Linked DNA regions of Homo sapiens: region 2 is linked to region 1. Evidence: promoter capture Hi-C in human tissues and cell types (Jung and others, 2019). All regions are on one chromosome and are shown on one strand. The core of a region is centred on a gene start or on the middle of the fragment in contact, and the rest is flanking DNA. Distances in the headings are between cores, read along the strand shown. Region 1 holds the start of PAGR1 (PAXIP1 associated glutamate rich protein 1). Region 2 holds the start of ATP2A1 (ATPase sarcoplasmic/endoplasmic reticulum Ca2+ transporting 1).

Region 1 (6,479 bases), core at 41-2,540:
ACTAATGCCTGCATCCCCTCCGGCCTCTTGGCCCCCTATCCCTGCACTTCTGGAAACCTCCCTGCACTCTGGAAACCTCCCTGAACACCTCCCCAACTCTGCGCTCTCAGCCTCCCTGCATCTCTCCTGGCCTCCCTGCACTTCTTCCAGCCCCCCAAATTCTCTGGACCTCCACCCTGGCCGCCTCCTCCCAACTTTCATTGTCTTGGCATCTCTCAACCCTCAGTCCTCTCTTCCTTCCCTTCTTTATCATCTCCCCTTTCCTCTCCACGTCCCGCCCCCTTCCTCTTCCTGCCTCCTCATCTCCCTTAAGCATCCTCTTCTCCAACCTCCCGTCACCGTTTACTCTGCAAAATTGACAGCACTTAGACGAGGCTTGGGGGCAGGGAGCAGTGTTGGGAGAGGGCTCCCCAACCCCAGGCTCGGACTGTTCTCTGCTGGGACCACCCAGGGTCGGACACCCAAGGGTGCCTGGCAGGTCGCAGAGTTGGCAAGCCGGGCCTCGTATGGGGACTCGGGTGAGGGTGGCGAGTACTGGTTCCGAACGCACGCAGGGGAGAAGGGAGGGACGCGGCGCTGACCCTTCCAGGTCAGCTGGAGTTGACCCGCCCACCTGGGCTTTTCAACCCCAGTCCGCGAGTTTCTTTCTTGAAGGTGTGGGGGCTAGATTCATTCACGTGCTTCGTAATGAAATAATCCAAAAAATAGGACCAAAGCGCCCACTGGCAGGAGCGAGGGCGGGGCGCCGCGCTCTATAATTATTTTCTAAGATGATGGGGGAGGTTTGTTGCACGCGACAGCCCGCTGAGGAGGCGGGGACCGAGCTACAACGCGGTTCGGATTTGGCGGGGGTTTTTTTCCTTAAAAAAAAAAAAAAAAAAAAAAAAAAAGTCTGGGGGAAGAAAAAAACTAAAATTCTTAAAAAAAAAAAAAAAAGGCTATTATCAAACTGATTTCTCCCTTTTTGTATGCCGGATGCTGCATGAGTCTGAAACACCAATAAACGGAGACTGCATGAGACTCGCCTCCAATCTCGGTTGGTTCCTGCGTTCGTCCCGCCGGCCCGGCGGTGCTGCCTTTCTGGCAGAACCTTACTGGGTGGTATACGCATGCGACTTCCCGGTGGCCATCTTTACTGTGGGCTGAAGCCTGTGCGCTTACTCGCGCATGTGCAAGCCTTCCCTCGCTTTCCTCTTCCAAGTAGCCTTGCCTAGAGCGGAGCCTCCCGCGCCATTTCTGTGCGCCTGCGTAGCGTGACCCTGCGCAGCCTGGGAGGCGGGTCTTAGCTCCAGGTGCGTACGGCATCTGACTTGACGTGGCCCACAACTGAAAGGTCTGGGGAGAAGGCGCCGTGTCCGGGTGTGGAGAGGGGCGTCGTGGAAGCGAGAAGAGTGGCCCGTCCCTCTCCTCCCCCTTTCCCTCTTTCGGAAAGTGGTTTCTGCGGGGCCCGGGAGCCTCGGAGTACCGAACCTCGATCTCCGGGGCGGGGTCCTTGGTGGGGACTGAGCGCCCCCTCCCGGGGACGGGCGGTCTGGCCGCGGAGTCCCCTGCGGGAGCGTGATTGGCTGGAAACGGTCCCGAACCCCCAGGGGAGCCCGATCCCTGGGGGACCCTGGCTTCGGACTCCAGTATCTGTCGTCGCAGGGTCCCTGCCCTAGTGGCCTATGTCCCTTGCTCGGGGCCATGGAGACACTGCGGCCAGTACGGCGGCGCCTCTGTCTGAAGAAGGGGAAGTGACCTCCGGCCTCCAGGCTCTGGCCGTGGAGGATACCGGAGGCCCCTCTGCCTCGGCCGGTAAGGCCGAGGACGAGGGGGAAGGAGGCCGAGAGGAGACCGAGCGTGAGGGGTCCGGGGGCGAGGAGGCGCAGGGAGAAGTCCCCAGCGCTGGGGGAGAAGAGCCTGCCGAGGAGGACTCCGAGGACTGGTGCGTGCCCTGCAGCGACGAGGAGGTGGAGCTGCCTGCGGATGGGCAGCCCTGGATGCCCCCGCCCTCCGAAATCCAGCGGCTCTATGAACTGCTGGCTGCCCACGGTACTCTGGAGCTGCAAGCCGAGATCCTGCCCCGCCGGCCTCCCACGCCGGAGGCCCAGAGCGAAGAGGAGAGATCCGATGAGGAGCCGGAGGCCAAAGAAGAGGAAGAGGAAAAGTAAAGGCACACCCTTACACCTTGTCCCGGGGCTGCTCCCCTGATGGCGGGAGGAAATAGGGAGGGGAAAATGTGGGACGCTGGAACCTTTGAAAGTGGAGGGAGGGAAGCCAGCGGGGGAGGAGGAACGGGCAGGGGAGAAGCACACGTGTGGGTGGGAGGGAGGACCGCCCTCACCCTTAACTATGTTCACCTGTCCCAGACCACACATGCCCACGGAATTTGATTTTGATGATGAGCCAGTGACACCAAAGGACTCCCTGATTGACCGGAGACGCACCCCAGGTACAAACGAAGAGGAAACAGTTGGGGGAGGTGAAGGGCCTCGGCTCAGTTACCCAAGATCGGCTCCCCTAGAGGCCTTTGCTTGCTGCCTCAGCTCCCACACAACTTACAGCTGCAGGAGAGAGTATTCACCCAGTAGCACCATCTTTATGACTTAGATTACTACCTTGTCTTCCTTTTTTTTTTTTTTTTTTTTTTGAGATGGAGTCTTGCCCTTGTCCCCCAGGCTGGAGTGCAATGGCACGATCTCAACTCACTGCAACCTCCGCCTCCTGGGTTCAAGCAATTCTCCTGCCTCAGCCTCCCAAGTAGCTGGGATTACAGACGCATGCCACCACTCTGGGCCAATTTTTGTATTTTTAGTAGAGACAGGCTTTCACCATGTTGGCCAGGCTGGTCTTGAATTCCTGACCTTGTGATCCGCCCACCTCAGCCTCCCAAAGTGCTAGGATTGCAGGCATGAGCCAATGCGCCTGGCCCCTTGTCTTCCTTTAAGAGACAATTATAATACAAAAAATTAGCCGGGCATAGTGGCGGGCACCTGTAGTCCCAGCTACTCAGGAGGCTGAGGCAGGAGAATCGCTTGAGCCTGGGAGGTGGAGGTTGCAGTGACCTGAGATCACACCACTGCACTCCAGCCTGGGCGAGAGAGTGAGACTCCGTCTCAAAAAACACAATTACAGATAATTCTTTTTTTAAAAAAACAACTAGTCATTGATTCTGGAAAATTACAGATAATTCTATCATGTTTCCCATTCCCAGAAGTCCAAGTCCTGGCCTTTCAATATTATCTAGATCTGCATCCCTCTACTACCATGTACATTCTTTAATCACACCGCTGGCCCCATTTCCCACCCCACATGCCTTCCTAGAATTTACCCTCAGAGTCATGCCTTTCCTTTTTTCTTTTTTTTGAGGGGTGGAGAGACAGAGTCTTGCTGTGTTGCCCAGACTGGTTGGTCTCGAACTCTTGAGCTCAAGTGATCCATCCGCCTCGGTTCTCAAAGTGCTGAGATTACAGGCATGAGTCACTGCACCCAGCCTAGAGCCATTCTTGATTTCTCTCTCTTTTACCTGAACATTCACACCAGCAGCAAGTCTTGGTAGCTATAAGATGTACATTTCCAAGTACCTCTGCTAGTCTCCACTTTCAATACCACATCCCCATCCAAGCCACTGTCTTTCTTGCCTGGATAGTTGTAGTAGCTCCTAACTGGGCTCTCTGCTTCCAGCTTCTGCAATTCAGATGAACCTTTTAAAACATAAATCATATCACTTTTTTTTTCTTTGAGACGAAGTCTTTCTCTTGCTCAGGCTGGAGTGCAGTGGCATGATCTTGGCTCACTGCAATCTCCACCTCCTGGGTTGAAGCGATTCTCCTACCTCAGTCTCCTGAGTAGCTGGGATTACAAGGACACGTCACCACGCCTAGCTAATTTTTGTATTTTCTAGTAGAGAGGGGGTTTCGCCATGTTGGCGAGGCTGGTCTTGAACTCCTGACCTAAAGCTTCCCAAAGTGCCTGCCTCAGCTTCCCAAAGTGCTGGAATTACAGGCGTGAGCTGCTGCACTCAGCCATAAATCGTGTCACTTTTCCACTTAAAATTTTCCAAGGGATTCCATCTTGCCAGGGAAGAGCATGTCAAAGGAGAATCCAAGCGCTTTTCCCGCCACCTCCAGTTCTCTGCACTCTTTTTTTTGTTTTTGTTTTTGGCGAGTAGGGGAGACGGAGTGTAGCTGTGTCACCGAGGCTGGAGTGCAGTAGTGCGATCTTGGCTCATTGCAACCTCCACCTCCCGGGTTCAAGCGATTCTTCTGCCTCAGCCTCCCAAGTAGCTGGGATTACAGGCGCCCACCACCACGCCCAGCTAATTTTTTGTGTTGGCCAGGCTGGTCTCAAACTCCTGACCTCGTGAGTTGCCCACCTCAGCCTCCCAAAGTGCTGGCATTACAAGCGTGAACCACCATGCCCGGCCTGCACTCTTCTTTGAACAGAACTCTGTTCTTGTCCTGGGGCCTCTACCCTTGCCATTCCCCTGCCCAGTATGTTCCTCCCTGTTCTTCACATTACCTGTGCCTTCCTGTCAATCAAGATCTTTGCTTCTCACCCTCTCTGAGGTCCAACCCTGAACCTCAGGTCCTCCAAGACAGAGGCCTGGGGACCTGCATGTTTAACCAGCTCCCCAAGTGATGAGTGAGGTCCAGGCAGGTATGGTGTACACCACCTCCATCCCTTCCATGTATCTTACCTTCCTCTTCTCCAGGAAGCTCAGCCCGGAGCCAGAAACGGGAGGCCCGCCTGGACAAGGTGCTGTCGGACATGAAGAGACACAAGAAGCTGGAGGAGCAGATCCTTCGTACCGGGAGGGACCTCTTCAGCCTGGACTCGGAGGACCCCAGCCCCGCCAGCCCCCCACTCCGATCCTCCGGGAGTAGTCTCTTCCCTCGGCAGCGGAAATACTGATTCCCACTGCTCCTGCCTCTAGGGTGCAGTGTCCGTACCTGCTGGAGCCTGGGCCCTCCTTCCCCAGCCCAGACATTGAGAAACTTGGGAAGAAGAGAGAAACCTCAAGCTCCCAAACAGCACGTTGCGGGAAAGAGGAAGAGAGAGTGTGAGTGTGTGTGTGTGTTTTTTCTATTGAACACCTGTAGAGTGTGTGTGTGTGTTTTCTATTGAACACCTATAGAGAGAGTGTGTGTGTTTTCTATTGAACATCTATATAGAGAGAGTGTGTGAGTGTGTGTTTTCTATTGAACACCTATTCAGAGACCTGGACTGAATTTTCTGAGTCTGAAATAAAAGATGCAGAGCTATCATCTCTTAAAAGGAGGGGCTGTAGCTGTAGCTCAACAGTTAGGCCCCACTTGAAGGGAGAGGCAGAATTGTACTCACCCAGATTGGAAAATGAAAGCCAGATGGGTAGAGGTGCCCTCAGTTAGCACCTGTCCCATCTCGGGCCCTCCAACTCCTCCCAGTCCCACTCCAGTGCAGCCAGCTGGCTCCAAGGTAGAAACCCATGAGCACTCAGGGAGCAGTGTGCCTTCAGCTGCAGCAGAAGCAGCCCGGAGGATAAAATGAGAACCAGCTGCACACGGGCCCTTTAACTCCCAAGCCCCACCCCTGGGCTTGGCCTGCCTTGCCCTGCCGGGAAGTGATCCCCAAGGCAGGGTGAGAGTTCCCCATCTGAGGCGTTTGTTGCAGCTACCTGCACTTCTAGATGTGAGTACATTGTACTAGCCCCCCAAACCCCAAATCAGGGGCAGATCTTTGTATCCCTTGAGGCTCTCTTTAGTCCTGTCTTGCTTTGAAGGGCCTTGCTTCTGCTGGGGCAGGGAAAACATGTCTGAATCAGAGTGGGGAAGGAGGATGGGTGGTGGCTTTGCTTTTGGAGGTTTCACTTTCCAATAGTTGGGAGTCTTCTGGGTTTTGAAGTAAAGGCAGATTAACACCAACACCGGTCCCCCACCCCCCTGCAACTCTCAGGCCTCTCTCTGACTTCAGGGTCCCACCTGGGAAATCAGGTGGGGAACCTTACAGGGTCATTCAGACCCCATCTTAGCCCTAGATCGGTGCTTGCTCTACTCACCTGCACTGTCCTGGGGACCTGGGCTCTGGCCTGTCACCTTGAGCTCCAAGAATGTGACCTGTACCCATTCAGGCCCCTTAACTCTGACAGATGAGGGTTTCTTACTCCTCCATGCAGGGCTGGGCCAGCTGTTGGTCTCAGTCGATCATTCAGGAAGTCATTAGCAGAGTGATTTCCAGAAGGCGTAGAATTTAGTGACCAAGGTTCTTTCCTTTTTGGGAGGAGAAAGTGAAAACTAGGATGCTCAGCTGGACCCACCAGCCTGAGATTCTGGGGATTTTAGAGCTGTCCCTTGGGGAGCCAAGCACTTGGGGGTGGAGGTGATAGCGAGGCTGATGGCCCCTGTGTTCTCAGCTCTCTGCCTGGGTAGCCCCTGGGTGATGGGGGAGAGGCCAGCTGTCACGTGGGGTATCAGGTGGCTCTGCCAGAAACTCCCTTGGCACACAGAGCACTGGGTCGGCCC
Region 2 (6,878 bases), core at 1,668-4,167, 940 kb before region 1:
TGTAGGGAGATGGACAGGAGACAGCTGGGCTTCCAGGCCACCCAGGCGGGGGGCTAGCCGAGGGAAGCCTGCTGGCTCTCCTGCTTGCTCTAATTTCTGGGGCTCCCCAAACCTTGGCCTCAGGAGACTGGGGATAGGACCGGCCTTGAAAGTGGGGGAAGCTTTGGAGAGCCGGGTGCTGGGTTCTTAGTGAGATGGCCAGTGAAGGCTGTGGTGCCCCGAGGTAAGCAGGGCCTGATCCCCTCCTAATCTTCCAGCAGCAACTGGTGCTCTGAGGCTCCCCCTCCCCCAGCCCTGCCAGCCTTCAGGGACCTGCCTTCCAAAGATGGGCAGGGGAGGGGGACGAGGACACCCACCCACTCCTCAGACCAGCATGTCTTGGCTGTTGGGGCCTGAGAGACTTTCCCTCTAAGCCTTTCTTTACAGATGGTTAAACCGAAGTTCTGCACTCATCAGGGACTGGCCAGGGTGTCTCTGTGTCCCATGCTTTTAGCTCCAGCCCTCAGGTGTGACAGGAGGATCACTTTCCATCCCTGGGCGTGGAGACCCCTGTGGGAAGGGATCCCCGAGGGCGCCTCTGGCTCAGCCTCCCTCCATGGCAGTTCACACCCACAGCCTTCCCTAGAGCAGCCCTTCTGCAGCTCCTGGCGGGTGGCTTTCCCTCCCTGGCTTGTTTCCCCCTCTGGGAAGCCGGGGGAGGTAGAAATGAATAACCTTAAAGGCCTGTTGGCAGGAATGTGCTGCCAAGCCTGCCCCCTGCCCTCTGTCTCAGGCTCTCGACTCCCTCGAAGCTGCCCATCTCTCCGTCTGCCCCTCTCCATGTTTGGGCATTCCCACTGCTGTAAGACAGTAGCCCCTGTCACTCCTCCAGGTGCCGGTGGGGAGACGCCGGCCAGCGCCAAAAGCCTTGGCGGGTGTGAGCCTGAGTCCAGCGGAGACGGTGGGTGCTGGGCCGGGTGGAGGTGCCGGGGGCTGTGTCTCTTGGAAGAGAGGCTGCTAATGCTCTCCTGCACCCCCAATTCAGCCCACTGTCCCCCACTCCCCTCAGGTCACAGCAGGATTCTGCTTCAGGGGAGGGGTTTGTTGGAACTGTGAAAAGGAGGCAGGAAGGAGCACCTTGTCCTCAACTCACCCAGGAGGCCGCGCCTCACCCAAGTCCAGGCAGAAGGGATGCATCTGGGAGGCTGAACCCTCAAGTTCCATCCACCCCTGCTGCCATCCCCCTCCCCAAAAGTGGGGGCCTCCCTTTTCTTTGCTCTGCTGTCTCCTATTCTGTCCTCTGCTTCGGAGTTTGAGCCCCAGAATGGAAAGCAGCCTTAAGAAGCCACACTTAGGAAGTCCACATGCCTCTGCTCATTTCAGGAAACAGGCCTAGACAGAGGACGGACTTGAGCCCAGGGCACCAGGCCCCTTCCCCTCACTGACCTTTCACCCTGACTCTCATCCAGCCTTTCTGCCTGCCTGTCCTCCCCTTCCTGCACCCCTGGTACCCTCCCTCGGCTCCTCCAGCAGCTGCCCTGGTGGTAACCAAGAGACGCCCCCATCCTGGAGCAGGGGTGGGGAGGGGCAGCTCAGAGCAGCTGCTTCTCTGAGGAAGCTGACACCAAGGCCAGCATTCAGCAACAACTTGTGGCTTTGCACCCAGCGCCGGGGTCCCCGCCCACCTGGCTCCCTGCTGTCCCTCTTCCCCACTGCTGCTCGGACTTCCCTCTGACCCTGGTGGCTCTGTGTCTCTGCTCCCTTTCCCCCTAGGTCTAGACATCTGTCCTTATTTCCCCCAGACCTGTCCCCAGAAGTCCACCCTTCCCCATTCCTTTGGTCTGGAGCCCCTGCTTGGTCCAGCTTCCCCAGGCCCCGACACCTTTCTGTGGGGTCTGCCTAGCTCCTGCACGCACACAGCATGGGCCTGATCCTGTTCCCCTCGTGGACAGATGCAGCAGGGCAGAGTGCAGCGCAGACCACAGGCCTCTGGGGCTGGCCACAGAAACCCCGTTGGTTAGAGCACAGTGTGGGATGAGGTGACCCTCAGTGCACGACTTGGGGTGACCCCTGCCCCCATCCTGAGACAGTTACCCCTCCCCCTCTGCCATCAGCACATTCTGTAGCCTCTTGGGTTACTTGGCTGCCTTGGTGTCCCATTTTCTTGGGGGTGGGGTGGGGATTCCCTATCCAGGATGGGGGGGCCCTCAGGGCTCTGTTCCCAGAGGCTGAGTTAGAGCGATGGGGAAGGGGGGGGGCAGTTTTGGGGAGAGACAGGCAGTGCTGGCTTTGCTCACCAGGGCCTGGACACTAAATCCCTTGTTGATGGCTGTGGCAACCCCTCCCTAGGGTAGGGTTACCATCTTCGGCCCTGTCCCCTTGACTCTCTCCCCTCACTTCCCCTTGTCCCTCTAGGAGCCACTCACTTCCTCTAGCCCCCAAAAGATGTTCTCCCTTCATCAGTCCCCCAAAGGCTTGGGGTATCTCTGCCACTGCTTCAGCAAATGGGGTGAGGAGGAAGGAGACTGCGGCAATGGAAACAGGCTCCGGGCAGATGAGGCAGGAAGGGGGGTGTGAGGAAAGGGACAGGTGAGGCCGGGGATGGAAGAGGGCTCCGGGAAGAACTGGGGGGATGAGTTTGGAATGGGAAATTCAATGCAGCTGGGGAAGTCGAGGCAATGGGGGGGCAGGGTCAGTAGCAGATGACAGAAAGTGAAGTCTCTCCCTACCCCACTTCCCTGGGGCTGGGGCTACCTTTGCGTCCCTCATGAGTGACATCTCAGGCTGCAGCCCCACTGTTCCCCCTCTGTCAGCAGAAATATCTCTCTTTTCTGACCACCTCCTGCTGGAGTCTCAGCCAGCCAATCCCTGATCTGGTGGAGGGGGGAGCCCGGCCTCCCCCTGCTCCCTCATAAGGACCAGCTGGGGGCCGGGGGGTGGCCGGCTGCTCAAGTGGGACGGGGGTCAGAGCTTTGTGGAGGGAAGAAAAACCTGGAGGGGGCAGGAGAGTAAAAAGAAGAAACCCAGGCAGACAGGCAGTTGGACACACTGAGGAAGACCCCCCACGAGTGGGAACCCCCTGGAAGGAACACACCGGCCCCGGCCCCCAGGAAGGGAGCACAATGGAGGCCGCTCATGCTAAAACCACGGAGGAATGTTTGGCCTATTTTGGGGTGAGTGAGACCACGGGCCTCACCCCGGACCAAGTTAAGCGGAATCTGGAGAAATACGGCCTCAATGGTAAGTGTCCCTTGGAAGAGCGGCTGGTAATTAATGCCCTCCTGCACCCCCAAAACACACGCACACGCATGCACGCGTTTCTCCCTTCAGGGTTTCTTAAGGAAGAGCTGGGCCGTTGTCCAATGCTCGCAGGGGGAAGAAGATACTGAGAAAACAGAGTCCCGAGATCCAGAGTTTTGGGAGGTTTTAATGGGATGAACTTGATGAACCTCAAGGTGGCCTGATTCTCTTAGCCACAAAGTCTTGGGTGTGGGGGGCATGAGGCTGAACCCCAAATGAATCTGTCCTTTTCTTCTTTTTCCTGGGTAGAGCTCCCTGCTGAGGAAGGTAAGTTACTGGAATCCCTGAACTCTCATAAATGACCACCCCCCACCCCGCCCTGTCCCACTCCCTCCTCCCTGCCTCTTTAGATTCTTTGAGCAAATATCCCTTCCCAAAAGGCAAATCTCCCTCCCTAAAGGTTAGAGTCCTGTCCGGGGCAGAAGTCTCCCAGGCGCTTTCTCCTTGAAGCAGCCAACCCTTGAACTGCCCCCCACTTTGCCGAGTCTGTTTCTGGACTCCAGGCGAGCTTCTTAGCCCTTCTCTGGGCACCAAGCTGTCTGCCCACCACCCTAGAGCCTCCCCACTGCAGGCCGGAGTCCAGGGCGCTCCATCCCAGACCTTCACCCACTAGACCTTAACCCGGGGCCCTCCCCTTGCCTCCTCCCCCAGGGAAGACCCTGTGGGAGCTGGTGATAGAGCAGTTTGAAGACCTCCTGGTGCGGATTCTCCTCCTGGCCGCATGCATTTCCTTCGTAAGTGTGGGAGGGTCTCTGGGGGCTGGCTGGGGGTGTGAGGCTGGGATCGGGCGAATGCGGGGCTCGCAGTCACTGGATCCTCCCGTCCGAGTCCCGAGCATCCCATTGTACAGACGGGGCGGGCTGGCGCGCAGCAGCGGGTGTGATTCGCGTCCTCCTCTCTCCTCCCCTGCACCCCAGAGGCAGGTTTTATTTTAAGCTTTAAGGGTGTTCTCAGCCAAAACACCGAAGCTAAGCCACCCTCGCGGCTTCAAGAGCTTGGAGAGCTCGGGTTACCCACCCGAACTCCGGGCTCCGGGTCCCGCCGCGATGCCGGCTGCGGCGCGGGGGGCCACTGCCACTCCCGGCATGCGCCGGGCGGACGGCCGCTCCACCAATCCCCGCGCCCGTCGGCGCCCCTGCCCCGCCCTCCCCAGCCTCCTGACGCTGATTGGTCGAGGGGAGGACTCGCTCCTAGTGGCGGGAAAGCGCGGCGGTGTGATGATGACTCCAAGGAGCCCGGCGCCCGGTCAGGGAGGGCACTGGCATCCCTCATTACCCGCCCAGCCTGGCCTTAGCCCTTCCCCGCGCTCCCTAGGCACCCCCACCCCCGCAGGGCATCTCCAGGGCTCTGCCTCCTCTCCCGCCCTGGGGGCTACTCCCCATCCCGCGGTCCATCTGCATGTCGCGGGTTCTTCCGCAGCATGTGAGCCTCGCTGGGGACTCTGGAGGCAACGAAAGCCTCCCTGTGCCTTGGTCTCCGAACGCAGGCCCCGTCGCGTTAAGCACAAGCTGGCAGGGCCTCTCCTCTCCCTTCTCAGATTTGCTCCTTGACATTTGCCTGCTGCCTGGCGGTGGCAACAGCTGGGGCGGGGCGCGCGCAGGAGGCCCCGTAACCCTATCCCCGCTCCGGCTCCCTCGTGAAACCGGAGCTTCCCTGCCTTGGCCGAGGGGGAGGGCTGCGGGGGCCAGACCGCCTGCGAAGACCACAGGGTTTTTCCTCTCGGGTTTTGGCTCCCGTGGGATGGATGTGGCTGTGCGGGGGGTTGGCCTGAGCTTCGCTTCTAAGCCAGCAGCTTGGTCAGGGAAACCTGAAAGCATTCCCAGCTAATCCCCCAAGTGGTGCAAGTCTGTGCGCGCCCATCCCGCTGAGTAAGGCGGTGGCAGGACCTGCAGTGGATGGACAGACCCTCAGACGGATGTGGGGCCACAGCGCCCCGACGGTGCCCGGCCCTCCTGCTGGCTCCTGCACTCTCCTGCACAGTTCTCCCCTTTGCAGTGGTCCACTTCCTTTCTCCATCTGTTTTGGGGCCTCATTACCTGTCATTCTCCTTTCCCCTGCTCCCCAGGTGCTGGCCTGGTTTGAGGAAGGTGAAGAGACCATCACTGCCTTTGTTGAACCCTTTGTCATCCTCTTGATCCTCATTGCCAATGCCATCGTGGGGGTTTGGCAGGTTAGCGTTGACCCTTCCTTACCCCTTCATGTCCCAACAGTGAAGAAGAGGCCAACCCTCCCTCCAGTCTCCTCCTCCTCCATCACCTCCCCCATACTTGCCTCTTCCTCTGGTCCTATCCCCTGGTCTGGAATGGGATGGAGTGTGGGGAAGAGGTGGGAGACTGTGACCCACTGTCACTTCCTGGCTATGTGACCCTGAGCAAGTTCCTTCATCCCTCTGAGCCTCAGTTTCTTCATCCATAAAATGGGGCTAGCAATCCAGTGTGAAATCGACTAAGATGATGCATGTTCCTGGCACACAGTAGGAATTCAATAGACGCTAGCTTGATTTCCTTCTTCCACTGACCTGACCACCCCCTACATGTCCTGTCCTCTGCTTCCTGGTTTGTTTTGTTTTGTTTTGTTTTTAGGTCATTTCCAAAGTGAAAACCCAAATGCTACCTTGCTTTGGTTTTAAGAAATGTCAGGCTATAAGCCATTTTTTGGTGCTCACTGGTTTCTGAACACTGAGGATAGAAATAGCCACTTTCATACTTTGGGAGGCCGAGGCGGGTGGATCAGTTGAGGTCAGGAGTTCAAGAGTAGCCTGGCCAACATGGTAAAACCCCATCTCTACTAAAAATACAAAAAAATTAGCTGGGCATGGTGGCAGGTGCCTGTAATCCCAGCTACTCAGGAGGCTGAGGCAGGAGAATCACTTGAATGGGGAGGCGGAGGTTGCAGTGAGCCAAGATTGCACAATTGCACTCCAGCATGGGCAACAGAGTGAGACCCAGTCTCAAAAAAAAAAAAAAGAGAGAAATAGCACTTTCTCTTTGCCCCAGTGTTACAGGCGCAGCAGAGCCACCTGTGTCTGTGGTGCTGACAGGTCCAGGACAGCATCTGCAGGGCAGCCTCTGATTTTCTTTGATTTTTTATTTAGATTTTTCTTTTTGAGACAGGGTCTCGTTCTCTTGCCCAGGCTGGAGTGCAGTGGCGTAATCTCATCTCACTGCAATCTCTGCCTCCAGGTTCTGGTGATTCTCGTGCCTCAGCCTCCCAAGTAGCTGGGATTACAGGCGCGTGCTACTACGCCCGGCTTTTTTTTTTTTTTTTTTTTTTTTTTGTACTTTTCGTAGAGACGGACGGGGTTTCACCATGTTGTCCAGGCTGGTCTCGAACTCCTGACTTCAAGTGATCCGCCTGCCTCAGCCTCCCAGAGTGCTGGGATTACAGGCGTGAGTCACCATGCCCGGCCTGATTTTCTTTGATTCTTCTTTGTTCCCTCCCCAAAACCCTCTCACCTGTTTTCACCTGTAGGTGACAGTTTCCTCAACATACACACACCCCTGCCTGTGTGGGGTTTTGTTGCCTCCCCCGTGCCAGGAGCCACAACTCCATAACTCTGCCTCCTGTGTATAACCCTGCCTCCTCCACCCTGTCTCCTC

What was found. The method cuts DNA at HindIII sites, captures the fragments that hold promoters and counts their contacts. A contact is called where the count stands out against the background at its distance.
Region 2: a contact is called between the fragment with the promoter of ATP2A1 here and the fragment with the promoter of PAGR1 in region 1, in 1 of the 25 tissues and cell types used here (dorsolateral prefrontal cortex).

The regions. Positions count from the first base shown.
Region 1 is chr16:29,814,862-29,821,340 of GRCh38, forward strand. It overlaps PAGR1 (PAXIP1 associated glutamate rich protein 1), which reads left to right and starts at 1,291. Exons shown (of 3, transcript NM_024516.4): 1 at 1,291-2,146; 2 at 2,349-2,431; 3 at 4,694-6,479. The coding sequence starts at 1,665. The coding sequence ends at 4,893. It overlaps PRRT2 (proline rich transmembrane protein 2), which reads left to right. Exons shown (of 4, transcript NM_145239.3): 4 at 1-1,020. MVP-DT (MVP divergent transcript) reads right to left here and starts at 5,506. Exons shown (of 4, transcript NR_186424.1): 1 at 5,323-5,506; 2 at 4,679-4,740. It overlaps MVP (major vault protein), which reads left to right and starts at 5,601. Exons shown (of 15, transcript NM_005115.5): 1 at 5,601-5,649. RefSeq lists enhancers at 1-630, 523-742, 993-1,242, 5,245-5,314, 6,006-6,479 and 1 more and a silencer at 1,433-1,602. The HindIII fragment of the contact is 8,731 bases long and covers 1-6,479 here.
Region 2 is chr16:28,875,571-28,882,448 of GRCh38, forward strand. ATP2A1 (ATPase sarcoplasmic/endoplasmic reticulum Ca2+ transporting 1) reads left to right here and starts at 2,918. Exons shown (of 23, transcript NM_004320.6): 1 at 2,918-3,219; 2 at 3,529-3,546; 3 at 3,931-4,013; 4 at 5,345-5,449. The coding sequence starts at 3,102. ATP2A1-AS1 (ATP2A1 antisense RNA 1) reads right to left here and starts at 4,351. Exons shown (of 2, transcript NR_046290.1): 1 at 3,972-4,351; 2 at 3,387-3,534. RefSeq lists enhancers at 1,889-1,958, 1,969-2,058, 3,304-4,077 and silencers at 4,148-4,197, 4,218-4,567. The HindIII fragment of the contact is 3,605 bases long and covers 2,189-5,793 here.